Regions from separate parts of the Homo sapiens genome. Here region 1 is linked to region 2. Evidence: promoter capture Hi-C in 16 types of primary human blood cells and fetal thymus (Javierre and others, 2016). All regions are on one chromosome and are shown on one strand. The core of a region is centred on a gene start or on the middle of the fragment in contact, and the rest is flanking DNA. Distances in the headings are between cores, read along the strand shown. Region 1 holds the start of PGRMC2 (progesterone receptor membrane component 2). Region 2 holds the start of SMARCAD1 (SNF2 related chromatin remodeling ATPase with DExD box 1).

Evidence for each region. The method cuts DNA at HindIII sites, captures the fragments that hold promoters and counts their contacts. A CHiCAGO score of 5 or more calls a contact.
Region 1: a contact is called between the fragment with the promoter of PGRMC2 here and the fragment with the promoter of SMARCAD1 in region 2, in 4 of 17 cell types (total CD4 T cells, activated CD4 T cells, naive CD8 T cells and 1 more). The highest score is 9.2, in total CD4 T cells.

What each region holds. Positions count from the first base shown.
Region 1 is chr4:128,284,014-128,289,114 of GRCh38, reverse strand. PGRMC2 (progesterone receptor membrane component 2) reads left to right here and starts at 1,302. Exons shown (of 3, transcript NM_006320.6): 1 at 1,302-1,742. The coding sequence starts at 1,325. RefSeq lists silencers at 7-301, 673-862, 1,183-1,362, 1,373-1,422, 1,603-1,662. The HindIII fragment of the contact is 4,970 bases long and covers 1-2,846 here.
Region 2 is chr4:94,206,343-94,212,077 of GRCh38, reverse strand. It overlaps SMARCAD1 (SNF2 related chromatin remodeling ATPase with DExD box 1), which reads right to left and starts at 4,213. Exons shown (of 24, transcript NM_020159.5): 1 at 4,008-4,213; 2 at 3,494-3,732. The coding sequence starts at 3,683. SMARCAD1-DT (SMARCAD1 divergent transcript) reads left to right here and starts at 4,522. Exons shown (of 9, transcript NR_125922.1): 1 at 4,522-4,548. RefSeq lists enhancers at 3,633-4,136, 4,235-4,594. The HindIII fragment of the contact is 2,630 bases long and covers 2,143-4,772 here.

The DNA.
Region 1 (5,101 bases), core at 53-2,552, about 34 Mb before region 2:
GCTCTGAGTCTCCTCACCTCACGCACAAATACCCTAGCCTACTAACTGCTTTCCCACTCTTTCCCCAGCCTCTAATCCTTCAGACACCTGGTTGCTATACAGCCTCTCTACAAGAGTGTCGACCCTGTCACTTGCCTCGTCAATATCCTCAGTGACTCCTACAAAACCGACAGTGAAAGGTTCAAACCTATTCTATGAGACTCAAGACAACAGACAACAAAGGGCAAGAGAGAACACGTCAAACGAGTTCGTCAAACGAGTTGAGTGCGTGAGACTTCAGAGGTCACTTTTTCACACTAGAATTTCAAGGTGTGAGAGGCTAAAAGACGTCCAAGTACATGAAACAGAACCTGCAAATAAGAGTGAATGACGAATAGAAAGACCACCTCAACCTGTCCACTTCCCTACGGCCGCAGAAGTTATGATTCAAGGAATAATGAGACTCTAAATCCTTTAAAATTCTACAAGAGCAGCCTTTGCCAAACCCAGCGGGGAGTGGCTGCTCGGTGCCAGCGCGAGGAGCACGTAGACTGCCGATGCCAGAGAAGCCCGGTGCGGGTTCCGTGCTTTCTCTCCGTTCCAGGAAGACCCCAGCTCGTGGCCAAATCTTCTTGCCGCTTCCCGGTCTGCGCGCCTACGCTGCCGGTTTCCCGACAAAAGCGACGGCGCCCTGGTGAAAAGCAGACGCCCCTCATCGGTTTGCGCCTTGCAGCTCAACTATGCCCCAGCCTCCCACAAGCCACCTGCCCGCGTCCTCCGCCAGGCGTCCAGCCCGGACCTGCCCCCGCGGCCGCCAAGGCGCACGTGAAGCTCCCGGGCGGGGGGAGCGCAAGGAGGCGGGAGTTTGCGGACGCGAACGCAGGCCTAGGAAGGGAAGCGATTCCAGGGCGCACGCGCAGAGCCTGGAGACTGGGCGGGGCGTGCCTCCCGCAGGGGTTACGAACGAAAGGCGAGCGCGTGGCGCTCAGGAGCCCGCGCACGCGCTGTGGTCTCGCCCCGCCCATGAGCGTCCGCGCGGCCGTCGTAGCATCTTTTCTTCAGACCCGCCCGGCTCGTCTACTTAACCTAGCGGAGGCTTGGAGTGAGAGCAGGGAAGTGTGGGGCGAGGTGGGCGGGGCGTTGCACGCGTGCGCGGCCAGCGAAAGAAGGGAGGGGGCGGGAGATCCGAGACAACGTTACCCCGTCAACACCCAATCAGGAGCCGGCCTGACCCCGCCCCCTCTTCTCACGTTATTGGCTGAGAGGCCCCCAGATGGGCGGGGCCGGCCGTGGGGTTGGGGAGGGCAGGGGGCGGGGAGGAGGAGGAAGGCGCTGGCGGGCAGTGATGGCGGCTGGTGATGGGGACGTGAAGCTAGGCACCCTGGGGAGTGGCAGCGAGAGCAGCAACGACGGCGGCAGCGAGAGTCCAGGCGACGCGGGAGCGGCAGCGGAAGGGGGAGGCTGGGCGGCGGCGGCGTTGGCGCTTCTGACGGGGGGCGGGGAAATGCTGCTGAACGTGGCGCTGGTGGCTCTGGTGCTGCTGGGGGCCTACCGGCTGTGGGTGCGCTGGGGGCGGCGGGGTCTGGGGGCCGGGGCCGGGGCGGGCGAGGAGAGCCCCGCCACCTCTCTGCCTCGCATGAAGAAGCGGGACTTCAGCTTGGAGCAGCTGCGCCAGTACGACGGCTCCCGCAACCCGCGCATCCTGCTCGCGGTCAATGGGAAAGTCTTCGACGTGACCAAAGGCAGCAAGTTCTACGGCCCGGGTGAGGAGTTGGAAGGGGAGGGGAAGGACCCCCTGCAGCTGAAGCACAACCCCCTTCGGACAGGGAGGCCTCTGGGCACCGGGTTAGTTTGCCCAGCCTTCTCGTCTCCGGGACCCCCGCGCCTCGGCCGCCGCACCTGGGACGGCCCATCCCGCCCCTACACACACACCGTCCCCCCGCAGCTACGGGCACCTCCAGTTCTTCCCCCGAAACCAGGGTCCCCGGTGGCGCCCCAGAGACCAGCTCTCAGCATTCATCTTTCTTCCATCCCATTTCTCCTCGCAGCCTTTTTTTTTTGTTTCTTTGGCTGGATTTTTCAAAATCGTTTTAGTTGTCACAGGTCAACGCTGGCCCTTAACCTTTTTTGAGTCTCCTGATTCCTGGGATGGATGGGGCACCAGGGAAGGGAGATTTCTGAAGTTGGGACCTAAACTAAAGTTTTGGGCTCTGTAATTCACCGTTTTCTTTTCCTTGCCCCCTTTTTTTTTTTTTTTGCCACTGATCTCCTTTTTTCCCTCGCTGTATTACTCCGTAAGGCCACGTTTAGGGGCATGTAAAGTCCCAACCCTCCAGTCTCTGAAGTCCAGACGTATAAGCAACACCTCGGACTCTCTTTAAACCAGTTTTAGTTCGGAGTTGCTTTCCATGATTAACAAGGTATGTGGGATGAGAACAGACCAGAATGCAGAGCTTATTAAAGACTGGTAAGGATATTCACCTTGAGTTTTGGGGGTGGAGCTCCTATACCCAGCAGGCGTGTCTCTGGTTTCTTTTTTCTTTTTTTTTCTCTTTTCAAGTACACGTTGATAATGACTTGTGTTTTCACTTAGCAGAACTAAGGAGAAAAAACTTAGAAGAGTTGTAGATTTATACCCCCATGTGCCAGTTATGCAAGTTAAAGATTTTTAGAACTTTGTTTTGAGAGAACTTTGTTTTCAGGGAACTTTGTGTAGGGTAGTTGATTTAGACGCCCTTTTTTTACAGTGTGGTTGTAGCATACATTTTGGATTATGTTAATAAACCCCAGACTCATGGAACCTGTTGGTATATCATACAGTTGAGCAACATTGTGCATCCTGGTTGTGCACTGATTAATACTAAGCTTTAAAAAAAAGTGGTGACTACAATAAGAATAAATAATTAAATTAGAGACCTAAAGTGACCTGTTATTGGAGAGAGTACCTCCAAGCCTTAAAGTCATAGGGTTGGCAGTCTGGAAGTAAGCTGGTTTTCTCCTTAATTTAATCTGTAGGTGTATAAGATTTATTGACACTTAAAAATATATACTTCTGATTTCAGTGCTTGATAGCTGGAAGATATTTTAGAAGTGCTTTGGTTTGTAGTTTGTTCATTGGAATAGGGATAAGAAATAGGAGATTTTTGGTGTTGAATTATGTAATTTATTTCTTAGTTGTTTGTACTTCTGTGTATATATACACATTTAATCCAACCAAGTAAATACATAGCTTACAGAGTTTTTGCTTCTGGTTACATAAATGTGAACACAAGGTGTCTGCCTACTTATATCAACTGAAATGGTTAATACATTTTTGTTTACTTAAGCACACGTGGGACAAGAGAACAGGGCCAAAGTACAGTATTTAAACAGGCCAAGCGAAGTAAATTTTTTTTAAATCAAGGATTTAGACAGCATTTTATACCTAGTTCAAGCTTTTCCCCCATTGGTATTAAAATGTGTTAAGTGATTAGAAATCCTGTACAGGTTTAAATTTTTAATATAGACCTTACCCAGCTAAAAGATCAGCTTTTGTACCCTGTCTGAACTGCCACTGAAGAAAACAAAGTATTAGTACAAAGAATCGTATTAGTCCTCACACATTATGCCTTGGCAGTATCTGAAAATAGCTAAGAGAGACAGTCATAGAAACAGTTTGGCAGCCTCCAGTGGCAAACGTTTGTTCTGTGATAGAAATTAAAAATTAAAGCCAGGCGTGGTGGTTCATGCCTGTAATCCCAGTGCTTTGGGAGGCCGAGGCGGGTGGATCACCAGAGGTCAGGAGTTCGAAACCAGCCTGGCCAATATAACAAAACCTCGTCTCTACTAAAAATACAAGAAAATCAGCTAGACGTGGTGGCGGGTGCCTGTAATCCCAGCTACTCGGGAGGCGGAGGCAGGGAGAGTTGCTGGAACCCGGGAGGTGGGGGTTGCAGTGAGCCGAGATTGCGCCATTGCACTCCAGCCTGGGCGACAGAGAGAGACTCGGTATAAAAAAAAATTAAAAATTAAGAGTCATAGGTGGTAGATTGCTTTTTTATGGTATGTGCACTGAGGGAGGCTCTTGAGATTACAATGGAGAAGTCAGTTTTAGATTAGTTTCTGCCAGTTCCTAGGTTCTGTTGAACAGCCTAAGAGTGATATACAGTTAGTATTCTACAGTTGATCAACAACATAACAGATATTTGAATATTTTATTATTGAAAGGAACCTTAAAGAAAGCCAGATCATTTTATGGGCTTAGAATATGTTGATATTGCATATTAATAGAAAATGTAATAAGTAGTACTTTTCAAAAAATCTTAAAGCCAAATTTCTGGCTATAAAACAGATACAAGTTCAGTTTTGCTTTTAATTTTTATTTTCATCCTCATAAATTAAGCAGTTTTGTAGCAGAATAATTCAGAAGCAGTAATTGTTAGTTTCTATGCCTAGCCAATATCTACCCTAATTTCACAATAATGGTTTTAGGATTAAATTTTGTGAGATTTTTCCATAATGCTAAACATGTGTTTATTTTTAGTCATACATTTTTAAAGTTCAGGCTCTTAATTAAATATTGACAGTGTAATTTGGTGGAGTATACACATTTTGGCAAACAGTTGGCATTAACTGTATTTGCCAATATTAAATTTAGTAACAGATCAGGCACTTGGCCAGCAGGTGAGGAAAGTTTGGTCATGTAAAAAACTGAATACAGGAGGAGAAAGAAAACCAGATTCGTTAAGCACCCACAATATCAGATCCATTAATTTTTTTATCTCCATAATTCCTCAGTGAAGTTGGTAAGTATTCCTGCTCTACAGGTGGGGAGTCTGAGGTCTAGGTATTTTAGGTAAATTGGCTTGGATTACATGTATGTCTAATAAATCCAGATGGATATTACCACACAGCTTATCTATACTATTTCTAGTAAACTGCATCCTGTGATAAACTTGTAGAGAATCTTACTGTTGTTTTTCTTTATACTCTTCCCTGGTTCCCATAAATCCAAGGATTTAAAGCCTCAAAAAAAACATGCCTTTCGGCCAGGCACGGTGGCTCACGCGTGTAATCCCAGCACTTTGGGAGGCTGAGGCAAGCGGATCACTTGAGGTCAGGAGTTTGAGACCAGACTGTCCAA
Region 2 (5,735 bases), core at 2,964-5,463:
TTGCCCTGAACAATGGAGATAAATAGGTGAACACAACAGATAAGGTCCTGCTCTCATGAATCATATGTTCTAACAAGGGAGTCACAACTATATAATGTAATGTTAGCTAGTGATACACAACTACATAATGAAAGGTTAGCTAGTGATAAATACTATGAAGAAAAATAACAGTAAAGCTGGGGTAGGGTGGGCTGGGGTGGGTGGCTATTTCACAGGGTGATCAAGGAAGGTCTTCTTAAAAAGGTGACATTTTACTGAGATTTAATGAAACAAAGCATCTGAGTCATATGCAAATATCAGCAGGAAGAGTCTTCCAGGCAAAAAAGCAAATTGGAAGAAGCAAAGATGGGACCTTGCTTGAAAGATTCAAGAAACAATGTGGTGGTGGCACAGTAACTGAAGGAGGGTCATAGGAAATGAAGTCAACTCACTAGATAAAATAACAGGATTAGTCAAAAAGAGTGATTACAGGTAATTTTGACTACATACAATTTCTGTCCTGTAAGCTGACTTAGTTTGACCTGACACTTTACTGTAAATAAACTAACGCAGCATTATCCCACAATGGGAGTATGAAAAGTTACCACATGATAAAGAAGTAAGGTCAATAGTCACATCCTATTTATAATTCACCAATTTTCATCTCCAGTCCTGACCTTAAAATCTAACTTCAGTATCTTGTCCTCTCCAGAGATCCAACACTCAATTCTGAATCCCCACTTCCTCAGCAATCCCTAGACCCCAGGCTAAATTAGCACTTGGGGGCAGGACCTTTGATTTTTATTCTTATTTATTTATTTATTTTGACATGGAGTTTTGCTCTTGTTGCCCAGGCTGGAGTGCAATGGCACAATCTCGGCTCACTGCAACCTCCACCTCCAGGGTTCAAGTGATTCTCCTGCTTCAGCCTCCCGAGTAGCTGGGATTACAGGCATGTACCACCATGCCCAGCTAATTTTATATTTTTAGTAGAAACGGGGTTTCTCCATGTTGGTCAGGCTGGTCTTGAACTTCCAACCTCAGCTGATCAGCCCGCCTCAGCCTCCCAAAGTGCTGGGATTACAGGGGTGATCCACTGTGCCCAGCCAGACCTTCGATTCTTATTTGAATTCTTAAAGACATTTACCTTTTTTTTTTTTTTTTTTTTTGAGATACAGTCTCTGTCCCCCAGGCTGGAGTGCAGTGGTGTGATCTAGGCTCACTGCAACCTCTGCCTCCCAGGTTCAAGCAATTCTTGTGCCTCAGCCTCCTGAGCAGCAGGGATTACAGGCACGCTCCACCATGCCTGGCTAATTTTTGTATTTTTAGTAGAGACGGGGTTTCACTATGTTGGCCAGGCTGGTCTTGTGATCTCAGGTGATTTGCCCACCTTTGCATCCCAAAGTGCTGGGATTACAGGCTTCAGCCACCGCGCATAAAAATCTTACCATTCATCTTATCTCATTCCCATCAGGGATCTAAACCCTGCCCTTCATTACTTTGAAACCTCTCATATCTCTTTCTTCTCCATTTCTACCGCTATCATTAAGCTCAATTACAGGAGTTGCCTAAATGTTTTCTTTCCCTTCAATCCCTACCCTCAATCAGTGTGTACTAGTCACTACTGCTAAACTGACTTTTAAAACTTTCTTTCACCATTTTCCATTCACTCTGTAAGTTCTTCAATGGATATCTAATACTTACAATGTAAAATCTAAACTTCTCAGTTTTCAAGATTCTCCAAAATTCACAGTATCATTTAAAACAATCTTTTATTAAAGCAAAGTGCTCCATTCCTACAAGGATTAATTCTCAACATTCCTAGAACAAACTTAGTTTTCTTATTTCCCGAAGCCATCAAGGCTGATCATGTAATTCCTAAAGCAATCTCAGTTTTTAAGCAGAATTTATGTATGGAAAAAAGTCCCAATAAAGAGAAAATGAGTGTTATCATTAGAAAGAAATAAAAACAGAAAAATATCTTCTGATCACTAAAGGAAATTAAAGATTTCACATGACCAATACTGATAAATAACTAAAACATTCCACTGAAATCCAGTTTACAAACTGCTTTCACTTTCAGAGATGAAAAAAGTGTGGATCACAGATTTCAAATGACTTGTCTAATGTCCCACATTTAACAAAAATGAAGAAGCAGAAGCTTCTATGGACTCGAAATCCCATGTCTACACCTTGGCTTTCCTGAACTATCTAACTACAGAGGAAACAGACAAATATATTCATTGGAAAAGCATTAAAATACCTGGATGTCAAATATCTATTCAAAGAGTGAACACAGGGATTAAAATCCTGGTGCTTAAAATCCTTCAGTTGTTCCCTATAGCATTTAAATTCAAAACTACTTAGACAAAGCCTTTGTAAATCTGACTCCTAATCCAATCTACCAAATCATTCTGCCAATTTCCAATTACACCAAAGTATTTAAAAATGTTATTCTAATGATAACTTGCAGAGGATCTGCCATCATTATTACATTTAAGTAGAAGGGTGGCAAACAAAAAGATACCAAGGATAAACATGTGTGTTACCAATCTTTCAGGCTACATTAAGTTAAAAGCTGTTTACGAAACAGAGTTTTGCATAAAAAAAGATATTACTGAAATAAATATTAAAATATAACTTCCAACATTCCTTTCACCTTTCCTAAGAAACTAACTAATTAGTTTATGCTCAGGAATCATACTGCCAGGACTTGAGTTCAGGCTCTACCAAGTTCCTAATAACCTCTCTGAATCTCATTTCACATTAACCTCTATGTCAGTAATATCTACCTTGTAGGATTATTGTGCAAATTAAATGACAGAAGGTGAAGCACTTATCACTATTCCTATAATACAACAAGAGCTCAAATATATTCCTCTAATAGTTAACTGTTCAATGAACATAGATTCGAGTGGAAATCTTAATTTTTGGCTTATCCTCAAATACTTTTGTCTCTGACAATCTGCTGATGAGGTTAAAAATGTTCATTCACCATGAAGAATACCAATTACTCATTTGCATTCTGAGGACATCCAGGAAGTCAGGTGGATGCAAGAACTTGATGTGATCTGATCTTCCCTTGTGTACAGAGGTTGTCTTTAGGCACCTTGCTCAATGTCTAGCTCACAGTAGATGATCAATATTTTGAGGGAATACTGGAATGAATGAAAATGTCTGCCCAAATAGCCTCAAAGTTTATCATAGGACTGAATCACTGACATCGCTCTTCCAATAGCAACCGTTCTGACCTATGGATGCCCTAAATTCTAATTTCAACTTCCACCATGGGGCCATATTCGAAGAACTCATATAAAAGTGAGGCGACAATGGATGGATGCTCAGTTGAGGGTACATGGTGCTTATGGCAGTCCCAAAGCTGTATTTAAAAGGGCACACCGCAGGACAATGCATCAATATATATGACATCAAGAATAAAAATGAGAATCCCTTCTGCCTTTCATCTTTTAAAAACTGTCCTTGATGTTACATCAATTTTAACATTGTAACTCACCTGTTTTTTCAGTTATATCTGAATCAGGAGTGTTTGCCCTGCTAACTTCCCCTTCAGCATTCTCCTCTTCAGCACTAAGAGAAATTGGTGAAGAAGGGCCAGGCTGGGAAGGTTGAGGGGTTGCTTCGGGCGCTTCCTCAATCTTATTCCTTTTCTCAAAGCGAAAACGGTCCAGGTTGAAAAGATTCATATTGGTAGAAAGCACCACCTTGCAGGGATGGGGGCTTTAAATGAACTATCTGCAGGGGAAAAATAAAGAGAGGAAAAAAGGCCATGAAAACAATATACGATACAATGCCACAGCAGTTTATTCCCAAGGCAATAAAGGGCCCGCAAACATGCCAGTGGCTCAGGACTGTTATGGCTGCGCTTCATTGTTAGGCCGCAACAATTAGAAGGTGGACGGGGGTATCTTTTAAAATTTTCCATTGCTTTTCACTCCCCTTCGTCCGCCTCCCCCGCCCGCCCCTCCTTACTGAAACCACGAGCTGACCCTCATGCAACCTCCTCTTACCCAAGCACGCGCAGGCACGTTCCCCAGTATAACCCCCTAGCGGGCCTCGCGCCCGCCCACAAAGAGAAGCTCCCTGTGCTACCGTGCCCCCTGCCTCGAGAAAGGACCTGCCAGGGCCCGCGCCTCGACACTGCGGGGACACAAAGGGGCCAAAGAAGGGGAGCGGCGGAGGCCGTGCTGGCGGGCATCCGCCCGGAAGTTGACGCGGCGCGATCCCAGCTGAGAGGAAGCTGATAGGATTAAGAACACACAGGAAGGTTCAGAGGTGGAGTGCATGCTAAGGCATCTTTTTAACGTTCAATCGCTCGCTTGTTCTTTCTTCCCTCAGTACTTACGATCTTGTAGCCTCAGTGCTATGTAACAAAGGTTGAAAATAAAAAAAAAATTTCCTAGCGTGGGGCGACGGTAGCCGTGCCGGGACCTTCCAAAACACCACGGAGAAACCTTAAGAGCGCGTAATGATGACGCAACACGCAGCCTAGGCTTTTTCTTCCCAAACAACGCGCGAGCCGACAATGTCGAGGCGCGCGCTGTTGTCATGGTAATTCGTACCCGTCTCCGCCGGCTTGTAAGGGCCAGATTGTTCTGTACCTTTGTCCTGTTAAATTATCTAGAGAGTTATTAAATAGAACAATAGTAAATAGCATAATGACAAAAAATAACAATATATAATACAATTAGTATATATTGTATGTATTATAATCTGTAGTGTTTCACCTATAATATAATGTAGATAGCATAATAGTAATAATACTGTGCTAAGCTTTTTCAGTGTATAATCCCAATCCTTACAAGAAGCCTATGTTTACAAAGCAAAGAAACTGAGACCTGCAAATGTATAGGTAATTAGTGACGGATAAGAACCCCGGGATGCTGAGCTTCAAAGCATTTAAAGTAATTCCTCACTTTCGGCTTGATTGTTCTTAGAATGGAATTTGATTAATTAATTAATTTTTTAAAAATATTTTAATTTTTAATGTTTGCGGGTACATAGTAGGTGTACATATTTATAGGGTACATGAGATATTTTGATACAGGCATGCAATGTGTAATAATCATATCAGGGTAAGTGGGGTATCCATAACAAGCATTTATCCTTTGTGTTTCAAACAATCCAGTTATTTTAGTCATTTAAAAATGTACAATAAGCTGGGAGTGGTGGCTCACGCCTGTAATCCCAGCACTTTGGGGGGCTGAGGCAGGTGAATCACAAGGTCAGGAGTTTGAGACCAGCCTAGCCAACATGGTGAAACTCCGTCTCTGCTAAATATACAAAAAATTAGCCGGGCGTAGTGGCGGGCGCCTGTAATCTCAGCTAATCGGGAGGCTGAGGCAGGAGAATAGCTTGAACCTGGGATGCGGAGGTTGCAGTTAGCCGAGATCACTCCACTGCACTCCACCCTGGGCAACAAAGCAAGACTCTTGTCTCAAAAAAAAAAGTACAATAAATTGTTGTTGACTGTAGTCATGCTATTGTGCTATCAAATACTAGATCTTATTCATTCAAACTGTATTTTCGTACCCATTAACCATGCTCACCGACCACCGGGGTCCTCCCCCGCCCCACACTACCCTTCCCAGCCTCTGGTAGCCATCGTTCTACCGTTTCTCATACGTTCAATTGTTTTAATTTTTTAGCTCCCACAAATATAATAAATGAGAACATACCAAGTTTTTTTTCTGTGCCTGCCTTATTTCCTTTAATATAATGACCTCCAGTTCCATCCA